Linked DNA regions of Homo sapiens: region 2 is linked to region 1. Evidence: promoter capture Hi-C in human tissues and cell types (Jung and others, 2019). All regions are on one chromosome and are shown on one strand. The core of a region is centred on a gene start or on the middle of the fragment in contact, and the rest is flanking DNA. Distances in the headings are between cores, read along the strand shown.

Region 1 (3,448 bases), core at 671-3,170:
CAGCCAGTGCCCAGGCCTCAAGGTTATCTGGGACTAGTTGGTCGTGGTTGTCTGGCAGACCCTGTTGGGAAGGATGAACCCCCCGCCTCAGTCTAGGCTTAGCAAGAAGGAGCTTGGTGAATGATTAGTAATGCCTGCTTCAGGCAAGACACCCAGCGGCGGTGTGCGTGCTAAGCCTGTGCCACCCTTGATCCAAGGGCATGCAGGGAAGCATGCCATGCTTTGCCTCCAAGTCCTCAAGCCCCCTAGAGAAGGGCTGTGGAGACAGCCAGCCTCGGCTGAGGGGGCTGGGGACCCAGGCGGGGGGAAAGGCTCTGGTTCGAAGGGATGGGCCTGGGCTCAGTCCAGCGCCTTGGCAGGAGCACCTTGGGATTTTAACTGGCTCAGCTCTTGCTGGCCTCGCAGGAGAATGGCCTCTGCCACTGGCTGCTAGGGTCAGTGCATGGGGATGGGCTTGGCCAGGTCCCGGGGGAATGTGCAGCCTCGCCCTAGACCAGCAGCTCCACAGTCAGCATCCAGCAACAGCCGGCACTCAGGTGAGGCAGAACCCAGGTACCTATGCCGCCTCCCGATCCCCGGAGAGAAGATGGAATTGGGGGAGGGGCAGGGCAGGAGGAGGTGCAGTTTGTGCCAGCATGTCAGCAGTCCAGGGCCACAAGGCTGACTTCCTCCCAACAGCCAGCACCCTTGGCTCAAAACACCTGCCAGGGGTCAAAGCAAGCCCATTGGAAGGGACTGTCCAGCCTCCAGGCCCTCAGCTCTCCCCACCCCCTCCTCAGCGTCGACCCTGCCCTGTGGAAGGGAAGACCAGAGATCCACCATGACCTCTGTCCAGGCCTTGCTCAGGTGCTGAGGGTCACTTGCCAGCGAGTTAGAGAAGGGATTTCAGAAACCACGCAGCCTGCACTCATAACCTGGAGCCCAGAGAGGGGAGCCAACCTGCTCAAAGCCACACAGCAAGGTAGCACACTAGCAAACTCAGGGACTCGACCCCCACGCCTGGCCAATTCCAGGGGAAGAAGGCATGGAGGTCACCCCTCACCCCTGCCAGGCCAGAGGCCAACTCGGGCTCTGCCCCTCCCTCCTCAGCAGCCTCCATCCAACTTGAAGAGTTTCCTTGCAGGCCCGGCACCTGCAGATTTTCAGGGGCCACTCCAAGGACACCACTGCAGCCCGGACGACGCAGCAGTGCACCCTGGAGTGGGGAGCCTGAGTCTGACCTCCCCTGCCCCCGCCGCCTGCCCCCCACCTCCCTCCCCTGCAGACCTCCATCTGCACTCTCAGCCTCACACCCACAGGAGCCCCCTCCACTGTGCCATTGGCTAACGGGTGCCCCAGCCTCTGCCTGCCGGCTGAAGACAGGTGCCAGCCGGCCTCACACTTGCTTTTTTCATTAAGGCTTCCAGACACCACTGGCTTCTGGCCAGGCCTCGCTCACGGGGATCCATCCCTCCCTGGGGTCCAAAAGCAGCGGCTGGCGGCAGCAGAGAGGTCTGCCGTGCACACAGAGCTCCGGGCGCACAAGGCTAGGTGCTGGGAGGCCACCCTGCCCCGTGCTCTGCGGCCCGACCCCTCCCCACAAGCCTCCCCACGTTATGTAACGGCTCCAGAGGGCGCGGGGTGCTCCTACCCCCAGCCCCACTCTGAGCAGTGGGCTGGCCTGGTGGACGCTGCAACGTGAGGGGGACGGGGACGAGGTGGCCTACCTGGCTTCGGGTCAGCAGGTTGTCCTCCCAGAGAAAGGGGCGAGCGCTGCGGAGGGCAGACGGCGCCAGGTGCGCTGTGCGTGCGGGGGCGGCGTGAGTGCAGAGGCTGCGGCCCGGCCTCCCTCTCCCCTTCCCCTCCTCCCCCGCGCCGCCTCCCTCTCCCACTTCAAAGAGCATCCAAGAGAGGGGGTTCCCGGGAGGGGCGCAGCCCAGTGGCGGCTCTGCGCCGGCGGCCGCCTTTATAGCTGTCAGGCAGACGGGGAGGAACACTCACACTTCCCACCAGGCCGCTCCCCCGCCCGCGCCGGCCGGCCTGGCGCACACTTTAACCCGCTCTGCGCCTCTGGAGCCCGGCCAGGCCGGCCCAGCTGCCTGTTGGCTGCTGCCGGCGGCGGCGGCCCAGGAGCGGCGAGCAGGGAGGCCTTCTTCCCGGGTCCAGAACTGGGGGCCACATGTCGGGTGTCCAGACGGAGCAGCCGCTGGCCTGAGGTTACCGGGGAGGCTGGCGGTGGCAAAGCCCCAGCCCCGCCTGTCCGGCTTCTGCCTCCAGAGCGGGCCCTGTCCCTGGGGCTCCTGAGAATGGGGTCTGGGATGTATGAGGTGTCCCGTCTGATGGCTCCGTTGTACGGAGGGAAAGGCTGAACTTCCGGGACGACCGTGCCCCAGGTCACGAGCCTCAGAAAGCTCCCGAGATGCAGGGGCCTAAGCAGGTGGAGGGACGCAGGGAGACCCAGCGAGAATGAACCAAGGGCTCCAGGGAGGAGACAGATGTGCCCGTGGCCTGCTGACCAGATGGCTAGAGCAGCCAGGGCCAGGGCAGAGAGGCTCAGGGATTCTGCAGATGTCCAGCACCAACTTGGCAGCCCCTGGCAGGCCAGGCCTGGAGCTCAAGCCTCTGTTCCTGCTGAGTCAGGGCACAGAGGGGAGCGAGAGTGGGTGGAGCAGCAGAGCCCCCCTGGGAAACTCCCGGCGGGCCCCAGACTTTGTGAGGCTTTCCTAAAGCAAGGCTGGGCACCTAGCCTCTGCACACCAGCTTCCCCAGAGCCCATCCTCGGCAAACAGAGGCACCTCCAAAAAGGGGAGGAGGAGGAAGCTGGGGCACCATTCCATCAGGTCATCTGTGTCTTTTCATCCATGCCCCTGCCTCCATGCAGCAGATGTCCTGGGCCCACAGCAGTGCCGGGAAGACACTTCTCCTTCCCTCTGTCCTCCCTGCTGGAAGAAACTTGTGAGTTCCTTCAGCTGCCTTCATGAGAAAGTTCTGCCCTGTGTCTGACCACCCACCAGAAAGGCTGGGAAGGAAAGCCACCAGTAATAGTAGTGAAAGCGATAATACCGTCTGCCCTCTGTCCAGCTTGTCCTACGGGCCCAGAGCTGTGAGGCCAGATCCACCTTTATGATCTGCATTTCACAGGTGGAAGAACTGAGGTTCGGGGACCAAGTCACCTCTCCAGTAGGCAAGGCTGGGATGCCAGCGCTCCTGAGTGTCGGGTTCTCTCCTCTGCCGGGTTGTTTAAGTTTCTCTCCCCGGGACCCTCGGGCAGGCAAGTCTTATTCATCTCATTCTCCTGCTGGGGCAACTGGGATGCAAGGTGGCTGCTCCTAGTCACAGGGCCACCTGCGGTGTGGAACCAGGACTAACCCTAACCCTAACCCAGGCCCACACTGCCCCCTGGGGTCGCTGTGCTGAATCACAGACATGGTGGCACCTGTCACCCAGCACACACACACACACACACACA
Region 2 (3,353 bases), core at 28-2,527, 480 kb before region 1:
AGACGAGTGAAACTCCGTCTCAAAAAAAAAAAAAAAAAAAAGCTTTAAAAAAATAAATAAATAAATAAAAATCCTAAGCCCCTGGTGGACTGAACAGACCCCTTCTTGGCTAAGGGGACCCCAGAGAAACCTGAAAAACAGCATTCCTGGCCATGACAAGAAGGGAGGCTGGACATGTCTCGTTCTCCCCTCTCCCTTTTGGAGTTTAGGCACCACTGGCCAGCATCATTAAAATAGAGGTCGTGAGACTGACAAAACAGACTTTTTTTTTTTTTTTGAGACAGAGTCTCTGTTGCCAGGCTGGAGTGCAGTGGCGTGATCTCAGCTCACTGCAACCTCTGCCTCCTGGGTTCAAGCGATTCTTCTGCCTCAGCCTCCCGAGTAGCTGGGACTACAGGCGTGCGCCACCATGCCCAGATAATTTTTGTATTTTTACTAGAGATGGGGTTTCAACATGTTGGCCAGGATGGTCTCGATCTCTTGACCTCGTGATCCACCTGCCTTGGCCTCCCAAAGTACTGGGATTACAGGCGTGAGCCCCCGCGCCCTGCCAAAACAGACTCTTTATGGCAACAAGATACCAAATTCCAACCAGACCCTTGTATAGCACCACATGACAGATAGCAGACCCTGAAGGAAAGGAAAATATTTTACCTCAAAATATATTTCTTTATTTTTTTGAGATGGAGTCTCGCTCTGTCGCCCAGGCTGGAGTGCAGTGCCACGATCTTGGCTCACTGCAATCTCCACCACCAGGTTCAAGCAGTTCCCCTGCCTCAGCCTCCTGAGTAGCTGGGATTACAGGCGCCCGCCACCACGCCCAGCTAATTTTTGTATTTTTAGTACAGACGGGGTTTCACCATATTGGTCAGGCTGATCTCGAACTCCTGACTTCAGGTGATCCACTGGCTTCGGCCTCCCAAAGTGCTGGGGTTACAGACATGAGCCACCGTGCCCAGCCCCCAAATACATTTCTTTGACATATTTTGGAATGGCCCTGCAAAGCCGTCTTCTGTGGGGGAAATTTGCATCTGTAAAGAATCTCTATTAGGAGCCTGGCCTTTCCTTTCTAGGCGTTTCCCGGATTTAGGAGAAATTAAATGAGAGTCTAATACAGGTGGGTCTGATCTTTTTTTTTTTTTTTTTTTTGAGACAGAGTCTCTGTCGCCCAGGCTGGAGTGCAGTGACGTGATCTCTGCTCACTGCAAACTCTGCCTCCTGGGTTCACGCCATTCTCCTGCCTCAGCCTCCCAAGTAGCTGGGACTGCAGGCGCCCACCACCATGCCCGGCTAATTTTTTGTATTTTTAGTAGAGACGGGGTTTCACTGTGTTAGCCAGGATGGTCTCGATCTCCTGACTTTGTGATCTGCCCGCCTCGGCCTCCCAAAGTGCTGGGATTGCAGGCGTGAGCCACCACGCCCGGCCAGGGGGGTCCTATCTTGTGGAATCCCTAGGCCACGTTGGAAGAAGAAGAATTATCTTGGGCCATGCATAAAATACACTAACACTAACAATAGCTGATGAGCTTAAAAAAAATCACAAAAAAATCTCATTATATTTTAAGAAAATTTGTGAATTTGTGTTGGGCCACATTCAAAGCTGTGCTGGGCCTCTTGTGACCCATGGACCACAGGTTGGACAAGCTTGGTCTAACACCTTTAGGGTCTGAGAAGAGACATTCACCCTCTATTATCTCTAAGGCTGCTACTTGGAGGCTTCATCTACATAATAAGAACCTCGGTGTCCATAATCCCCTTATCTTAACTCAAGCATTTTTTTTTTTTTTTTTTTTTTGAGATAGAGTTTCACTCTGTTGCTCAGGCTGGAGTGCAGTAGCGTGATTTCGGCTCACTGCAACCTCTGCCTCCCGGGTTCAAGCTATTGTCCTGCCTCAGCCTCCCAAGTAGCTGGGATCACAGGCGTGTGCCACCATGCCCAGCATATTTTTGTATTTTTAGTAGAGATGGGGTTTCACCATGTTGGCAAGGCTGGTCTCGAACTCCTGACCTCAGGTGATCGCCCACCTCCACCTCACAAAGTGCTGGGATTATAGACTTGAGCCACCACACCCAGCCAACTCAAGCATTTCTTTCTACTGACTTCAAGTCTTTAGACAAAGCTTAACTCTTTCAACCAGTTGTCAATCAGAAATTCTTTGAATCTGCTTATGATCTGTAAGCCCCCCTCAGCTTCAAGACCTCCCACCTCTTTAGGCTGAACCAATGTAAACTTCCATGTATTGATTTATAATTTTACCTATATATCCTGTCTCTCTAAAATGTATAAAACCAAACTGTAACCCAACCACCTCGACTGCACTTTCTCCAGACCTCTTGAGACTGTTTTCTGGACCATGGTCACTCATTGGCTCAGAATAAACTTCTTTAAATATTTCACAGCTTTTTTTTTTTCCATCAACAAGGTTGACACAAGGTTGCTTGATGGAAAATTAATCTACAGAGTCAACTACTGTTCTAAATGACAGCAAAAAGCAGAAAACAAGTGTTTAAAAGATACCATTTACAGGCCAGGCGTGGTGGCTCACGCCTGTAATCCCAGTACTTTGGGAGGCCAAGGCAGGCAGATCACCTGAGGTCGGCAGTTTGAGACCAGCCTGACCAACATGGTGAAACCCTGTTTCTACTAAATATAAAAAGTTAGCTGGGCATGGTGGTGCATGCCTGTAATCGCTGCTGGTTGGGAGGCTGAGGCAGGAGAATCGCTTCAACCCAGGAGGTGGAGGTTGCAGTGAGCCGAGATTGCACCATTGCACTCCAGCCTGGGCAACAAGAGTGAAATTCTGTCTCAAAAAAAAAAAAGATACCATTTACAATAATTTCAAAATATATCAAATACCTGGAAATGGGGATGGATGCCCCATTCTCCACGATGTGGTTATTCCACATTGCCTGCGTCAAAACATCTCATATACCCCATAAGTATATGTATCTACTATGTACCCCCACAAATGAAAAATTAAAAAATACCTAGGAATATTCAGGACTTCACAAATACTTTATTTTATTTTACTATTATTATTTTTTTGAGACAGAGTTTTGCTCTTGTTGCCCAGGCTGGAGTGCAATGGTGCGATCTCGGCTCACTGCAACCTCCGCCTCCCAGGTTCAAGTGATTCTCCTGCGTCAGCCGCCTGAGTAGCTGGGATTACAGGCATGTGCCACCATGCCCGGCTAATTTTGGATTTTTAGTAGAGACGGGGTTTCTCCACGTTGGTCAGGCTGGTCTCAAACTCCCAACCTCAGGTGATCCGCCCACCTCAGCCTCCCAAAGTGCTGGGATTACAGGCATGAGCCACCGTGCCCGGCTGGCACAAAAACTTTAAATGGAGAAA

Evidence for each region. Contacts are between HindIII fragments. The study calls those that stand out against the background at their distance.
Region 2: a contact is called between a fragment that was not itself captured here and the fragment with the promoter of ADAMTSL2 in region 1, in 2 of the 25 tissues and cell types used here (lymphoblastoid cells and mesenchymal stem cells).

What each region holds. Positions count from the first base shown.
Region 1 is chr9:133,533,176-133,536,623 of GRCh38, reverse strand. It overlaps ADAMTSL2 (ADAMTS like 2), which reads right to left and starts at 1,920. Exons shown (of 19, transcript NM_014694.4): 1 at 1,707-1,920; 2 at 1-61. RefSeq lists enhancers at 350-891, 1,432-1,973, 1,974-2,513, 2,514-3,055 and a silencer at 3,314-3,403. The HindIII fragment of the contact is 7,890 bases long and covers 1-3,448 here.
Region 2 is chr9:134,015,776-134,019,128 of GRCh38, reverse strand. No RefSeq gene overlaps it. Among named protein-coding and RNA genes, the nearest start is that of BRD3OS, 8.0 kb to the left of the region's middle. The HindIII fragment of the contact is 3,150 bases long and covers 1-2,852 here.